2 separate regions of the Homo sapiens genome follow, and region 1 is linked to region 2. The links are contacts of gene promoters, found by promoter capture Hi-C in blood cells and fetal thymus (Javierre and others, 2016). All regions are on one chromosome and are shown on one strand. Each heading gives the region's core, a stretch centred on a gene start or on the middle of the fragment in contact. The rest is flanking DNA. Distances are from core to core; before and after follow the strand shown. Region 1 overlaps SPACA6 (sperm acrosome associated 6). Region 2 holds the start of FPR3 (formyl peptide receptor 3).

Region 1 (3,471 bases), core at 186-2,685, 94 kb before region 2:
ACTCGAACAACAGAAGTTTCTGCCTTCTAGAAGTCTGAGACCAAGGTTTTGGTGTCAGCAGGGTTAGTTTCTTCTCACGCCTCTCTCTTTGGCTTGTAGATGCCTTCCTTCATATGTCCCTGTGTGCATCTCTGTGTCCTAATTTCCTCTTCTCATAAGGACACCAATCATACTGCATTACAGCCCACCCTAATGACCTCATTTTAACTTAATCACCTCTTTAAGAACCAAGTACAGTCACATTCTGAGGTACTGGGAGTTAGGACTTCAACATACAAGTTTGGTTGCGGGGGATGGGGGGTGGGCGGCACGATTTAGCCGATAAAACCCTGCCACATTACTGATTTCCACAAATCACCACGAGATCAAGTCAGCTGTCTATTCTTATTCCACTGGAACAAGCCACAAACCCATACAATTTGGAGGCCATTGCAGTGGTCAAAACACAAGGCCAGGCATGGTGGCCCACACCTGTAATCCCAGCACTTTGGGAGGCCGAGGCAGGCGGATCACCTGAGGTTAGGAGTTTGAGACCAGCCTGGCCAACATGGTGAAACCCCATCTCTACTAAAAATATAAAAATTCGCCGAGCATGGTGGTGGGTGCCTGTAATCCTAGCTACTGGGGAGGCTGAGGCAGGAGAATCACTTGAACCTGGGAGGTGGAAGTTGCAGTGAGCCAAGATCACACCACTGTACGCCAGCCTGGGCAACAGAGCGAGACTCTATCTCAAAACAAAACAAACACCTACAAAGACAAGGAACATAAAAGAGTAAAAGATGGGTAAATATAGAAGTGAATAGAGGCTGGGGACTATGGAGAAGTGGCCGGTGTGTGCCCCATTTCAAGGGAGTGACTGCTACCCATCTCCAGCTAATTGCTGCCTTATGGAAATGCGATCTCTGTGTTACAGCTCTTCCAACTTTGTAAAAAAGAGATGCCAAACGTTTTATTTGACATTCCAAATTTTATATGTTGGCAACTGGTTCATTTTCTTTTAAACACTTTCCAGGCCAAATATAACACATCCCAGGGATGGATTTGGGTCATAGGCCACCAGCTGGGGTCTCCAGTTCAAGTTGGATCCTGGAATTCATTGTACAAATACTTACTGAGCACTTCTAAGACTGAGGGCCCTCTCCAGGATCCAGAGGACACAGTGCTACAGAAGAACATGTTTATTTACTTACGAGACAGACATAAGTGATCATCATCTATATATAAATATATGTAATTGCAGACAGATGAGAGCTAGGAATGAAATGATTGCGATGAGAGACAAAAACAGGGAACTTGGTTAGATTTGTGGTGATGGAAGGATGATTAGGAGAAGGAAAAATGTGCTAAAAACAAGCCAGCATGTGCAAAGGCCCTGAGGTGCTAGGGAATGTGGTGGTTTTCATATTAAAGGAAATGAGGCCAGGCACGGTGGCTCATGCCTGTAACCCCAGCACTTTGGGAGGCTGAGGTGGGTGGATCACTTGAGGTCAGGAGTTCGAGACCAGCCTGGCCAACATGGTGAAACCCCATCTCTACTAAAAACACAAAAATTAGCCAGGCGTGGTGGTGCACACCTGCAGTCCCTGCTACTCGGGAGGCTAGGGCAGGAGAATCACTTGAACCCAGGAGGCGGAGGTTGCGGTGAGCCGAGATCGCACCACTGCACTCCAGCCTGGGTGACAGTGAGACACTGTCTGAATAAAATAAAATAAAGGAAATGAAAGGTGGGCAGTAGGGATGGGACAGGGAGGGAGGGGGAACTAGGCCAAACCATGTAAGACCTAATAGGCCTTGGTGAGGAATTTGATCTTTATCCTCCCCTTCTCCCCCCAACAAGCTACATGCAGGTGATGTCCAGGAGGACTTCCATCCTGGAGAGATTCAGGAGGCAGAAGAAAGGAGACTTAGGGACTTGTTAGCCTTCAACTACAGAGGGCGGGTGATGAGAAGAGGAGCAGAGAATATGGTAATGAGAGGGGTGAAGAGGGGCCAGGGAAGGGCAGATACCATGACAGTACGTCCTGTGAGCTAGGGCCAGCCTAGCCCTAGCCAGGCTAGATCAGAATGCAGGACCAAGGACCAAGCCCTGGGGGAAGGGCTTTACTACACAGGCCGTCCTCCCCTCCACTCTCCAGGATCCTTTGAGGTTGCCTTCCCTGATGCTGCGGAGAAAATGAAGAAGGTCATTACACAGCTTAAAGAAGGTAAAATACACTCCATCTCTCCTTCCCCAGACACACACACACACAATTAGAAAACCCCACTTTTGGCCGGGGATGGTGGCTCACGCCTGTAATCCCAGCACTTTGGAAGGCTGAGGCGGGCAGATCACTTGAGATCAGGAGTTCAAAAGCAGTCTGACCAACATGGTGATACCCATATCTACTAAAGATACTAAAATTAGCTGGGCGTGGTAACGCATGCTTGTAATCTCATCTACTCAGGAGGCTGAGGCAGGAAAATTGCTTGAACCCTGGAGGCGGGGTTGCAGTGACCCGAGATCGGCACTCCAGCCTGGGTGACAGAGCAAGACTCCATCTCAAAACGAAACCCACTCCTGAGACCCCCCATCCACTCCCCGTACAATCCCCTGGCCCCATCTCTGAGCCTCAGACCTTGAGGGACGACTATTTCCCCGCGTGGACCATTTTTGATCTGGCCCCGCCCCTTCGATGAAAGGTTTCGTCTCCAACTGAGCCCCTTTCCGGGACTACTACTAACCTGGCCACGCCTCTTCTCTAACTGGGCCACCACCTTAGCCTTGGTCTCCTGCAAGGATCGCCCAGGATCTAGCCCCGCCTCCTCGGTGGAATACACCTGGATTGCCCATCCCCATCAGGGCCTACAGAAAACCAGTGTGTTTCCCTCTAAACCCCAAGTAGAAGGCTGGCAGCAGTCCTGGGCCTGACCTCCTAGTGGAATGCTCAGGCTTGGCCCCGGCCCCAGGTGGAACCCAGCCGGCTTGACCCCGCCCCCAGGTTATGACGAAAGCTTGGCCCCGCCCCCTCGGAGCAATGCTTCGGGCCTTGTAACATTAGCTAGGGGAGCATCGGGCAAGGGTTCTTCCCATGACTGTAAGGTAGTGATGTTTCCTCTTCCTCCACAGCCCAGGCTTGCATCCCTCCCTGCGGTAAGGACTTCATCTAAAACTTGGAAATTGCGGGGTAAGGGAGGCGGTCGGGGACGAAACGTACGACATCAAGTGTGGGAAAGCGGGTGGGCTTCACATCCTTAGGAAGCCAATAAGATCCCTGGAGAAAAGGAAGAAAACCAAGTATTGCTCTAAATCCTCAGAAGGTGTGTGTGAGAGCCGAAGCAAACCAATAGGAATCCTAGAGGGCGGAGAGGAGTGAGAGTCGGCCAAAGACAGCAGGGAGGGCGGGGTCAAGATGCCACCTGGCCGATGGACCCCGGGAAGCTGCATGGATCTCAAATGGGCCAAGGGCCCCGGGCTTGGAAGGGCAGGTGGCG
Region 2 (3,606 bases), core at 811-3,310:
AGTCACATTTTCTGCCTGTCTCATGATTCTGGCTCGGGAGGGCCTGTTGATGCAATGTCCAGAACAGTGGCAGCCATTCTGTGGTCACTTTCAAGAAAGCCCTAGAAGAAAACCAATATGATGATGGAGTGGAAGGGTGACATTAAACTCAATTTTTGTTCAAACTCCAGATCTATCCCCTTCCAAAACTTTTTTTAATAATAAATTTCTCCATGGCTTATGTGCTTCATTGGTTTACTCTACCTTATCACTGAAAACATCCAGTGAATCAGAGAGAAAATAGAAAATAGTTGACTCTTGTTTTGTGGCTCTCCACTGTTTTTCATGGTTCTATTCCTTGGGCTTGAGAACAACATTCTGATGGTGTTTAAAAACTCAGAAAGAGCCCATCTCCTTAGATCAGTAGTCCATAGAGCATCTCCCTAGGGGCAGAAGGTTAGGGGGTTAATCTCGGCAATGGTGTGGAGTGTACAGTGTCTCTCATTTACCTTCCTTACCTCTCTACATGCTCCTAGTTACTGCTTCTCTTTGTAACTCTGAGGTATGAAATACCTCAAAGCATATTTGATTTTGTCACAGATTTCTGGCACAGGGCTCTTAAAACCCTTGGAATTCCCTGAGTGATAGGAGTATTATTTGTTATTCATAAACAGCCCCTTTTGATCATAGCTGAGTTTATGCTAAGGAGATCATGGCCTTAGGATGGGACTGGTCACCAGAAAGACCAAGGGATTAGAGGGTTGGAGCTGTCAGCCCCACCTACTGATCTCCAGGAAGGGGAGGCAGGGACTGGAGATTGAGTTCCATAAAAACTCTTGAACAATGAGATTTGATGAGCTTCCACATTGGTGAACACTCAGGAGTGCTGGGAGAGTGGCTGCCTGAAGAGAGCATGGAAGCTCCATGCACCACCCAACCCCTTCCCTGCCATATACCTGCCATATGCCTCTTTCCAATGGACTATTCCTGAGGTATATTCCTTATATAAAGCAACAGATGCAAACAAAGTGCTTTCCTGAGTTCTGTGTGCCATTCTAGCAATTTATTGGTGTCATTGGAACACCCAATTTATAGCCTGTCAGTCAGAAGTACAAGTAGCCACCTGGGACTTGCAACAGATGTCTGATCTGATCTGAGAACAGTTTGTGGGAGTGAGCCCTTTAGCTTTTCGGATCTGAGCTGAATCCAGGTAGACAGCATCATAACCGAATTTTTAATTGCAGGTGGCCCAGGTGGTGTCCCCAGAGAATTGGAGAATTTCTTGGTGTAGAGAAAAAGTATATTTGGTCAGAAGGATTGTGAAAGTAGAGAATCGAGTTTTTGTTTCACCGTGCATCTTTGTTTTTTTATTGTTTTTCCTCTCATTCTTCTCACCTTGGTAATTGTTTCTTTCATTTTCCTGAATCTCTGAAAAGAAAGGGCCTGGACTCTCAGATTTCTTGGCCTTTGATATTTGGAAGGATGAACTCCAGTCTCCCACAGAAGGCTAGAGGTGAAGGAACATTCAGACACATAAGTTTCCAAGATAAATCGTCTGAGAACATCTCCAAGGTGTCTTCTGGGAATGGTAAGAAACCCTGAGTTTGTGTCACTGGATTGATTCCAGCTCCATTGTCCCCGTGTCCTTCAACTAAGTCTCTGCTGAAGCCTGTTCTATAAAAACAGCAAGTAAGTGGTTTGGACTGACCTATTGTACTAGGTTCGACAAAGCAAACCAAATGGAGTCAGTCATACTAAAACTCCACATCACCAAACCAAAACTAATGTATCTGAACTTTTGAGAAATCAGGAGAGAGAGAAAATGGACAAATTCCTAAAACAGGCCAGTTTCAGTGGGCATGAACATGAAGTTCTGTCTGCTTTCATCTTTACAAAAAAAAAAAAAAAGCAATCTGTGGTAACTTGACTTCAATCAATCAGTTGTTCCTTATTGCTGTCTCTCTATTCCTGCTGCACAAAAAAAATGCAACATCCAGATGACCAATCAGGTTTTTGTTCTCTGTTTCTGCTTTCTTTAGCCCTCCTATCCCTGTAAAACCAACTTCCTTGGCTCTAACTATCAAAACACTCATTTTGTTTTATAGCATGACAGGCTGTCTGATTCCATCTTTATAACCAAAGCCAATTAAGATCTTAAAACCAAACATATAACTTCATCTTTTTACAAGTACTTAGAGCCTGAGTTGCTCCACAGGAATCCAGGAACTGGGCACAGGAAAAGGATCTAAGCTGGTGGTAAGTTGGGGTCTGAAAATTTTAAAGTTATTGTTGAAATGCCTGCTATATGACAGAGCCCTTCTAACTCTGGAGTAGCGTAGTCCAGTGAAGAATCCACTTCGTTAGTATGAAAACAATGTTAACTATTTCATTAACAGTGTTTAATTTGGTTACATGTTCCAGTAACATTCTTTTTTTTTTTTTTTTTTTTTTTTTTTTTGATGGAGTCTTGCGCTGTCACCCAGGCTGGAGTGCAGTGGCACAATCTCAGCCCACTGCAACCTCTGCCTCCCAGGTTCAAGCGATTCTCCTGCCTCAGCCTCCTGAGTAGCTGGGATTACAGGCACCTGCCACCACGCCTGGCTAATTTTTTGTATTTTTAGTAGAGACGGGGTTTCAATATGTTGGCCAGGCTGGTCTTCAACTCCTGACCTCGTGATCTGCCCACCTCGGCCTCCCAAAGTGCTGGGATTACAGGCGTGAGCCAATGTGACTGGCCAATTCTTTATCATATATGTAATTAAATAAAATTTATTACTAAAATAATTTCCCCAAAGGTGTTTTACTTTTTTAAAAACAGTGGCTACAAAAAAATTTTGAGTCCCATATGTAGCTAAAGTTAACACATTATATTTCTACTGGACATGTAGCATTGTAGAGATGTAGCATTGAAGGATCTTGATAGTCCTGTGGAGCTTACGTACTAGTGTGGAGGGTATTTAAGAGAGAAGATAAATGAACAAACAAATAAAGGAGAAAAGTATCTGGTGAGATAGGCTGTACCTGAGCATTCTGCTTTGCAGAGTGGGTGAGGTGGGATCTCTCTGAAATAATATTTGACCTGAAATATGAATATTCAGGATGAGCCAGGTGCAGGAAGCTCAAGACGAAGAGCACGGTAGGCAGAAGGAATAGAGAAAGCAGAAGCCCTGAGATGACAAAGAGCTGCAAGTTCAAGGAATTAGAGCCCAGTGGGTGGAGCCCAGTGTGTCTGATGAGAGTGCAGAGATGAGGTCTGAGGGATGCACAGGGCACATGTGGCAGTGGATAAGGGAACCTAGGATAAGGGAACCTAAGATAAGGGTAACTTAGAAGTCTGGAAGCCATCGGAAGGTATTGCGAATAACATCACCATCTTATTGGACCTTTTTAAAGCTCATTTGGTTTCTGTCTGGAGAATGGATCTTAGGGGAGGGGGCAGCAGGACCAGGAAAAAGCTATTTGCAAGGCTTGTGCAAATATCCAAGCCTGACAGGGCCATGGACACCGGTCGTGGAGATGGCAATGGCTCTGGCTGTGCATTCAGCATGTTCTGTAGATAGAATGAGTAAGACGTGGATGGCGTTGGGTGGTGAGGAAAAGAGAAATGAAAGGTGAGTTCTAGATCTG

The links. The method cuts DNA at HindIII sites, captures the fragments that hold promoters and counts their contacts. A CHiCAGO score of 5 or more calls a contact.
Region 1: a fragment that was not itself captured here is called in contact with the fragment with the promoter of FPR3 in region 2 in 1 of 17 cell types (monocytes); the score reaches 7.9 in monocytes.

The regions. Positions count from the first base shown.
Region 1 is chr19:51,699,523-51,702,993 of GRCh38, forward strand. SPACA6 (sperm acrosome associated 6) reads left to right here. Exons shown (of 9, transcript NM_001316972.2): 3 at 2,136-2,204; 4 at 3,107-3,130. Among named protein-coding and RNA genes, the nearest start is that of SPACA6-AS1, 7.8 kb to the left of the region's middle. The HindIII fragment of the contact is 3,108 bases long and covers 1-2,989 here.
Region 2 is chr19:51,793,097-51,796,702 of GRCh38, forward strand. FPR3 (formyl peptide receptor 3) reads left to right here and starts at 2,061. Exons shown (of 2, transcript NM_002030.5): 1 at 2,061-2,235. The HindIII fragment of the contact is 12,110 bases long and covers 1-3,606 here.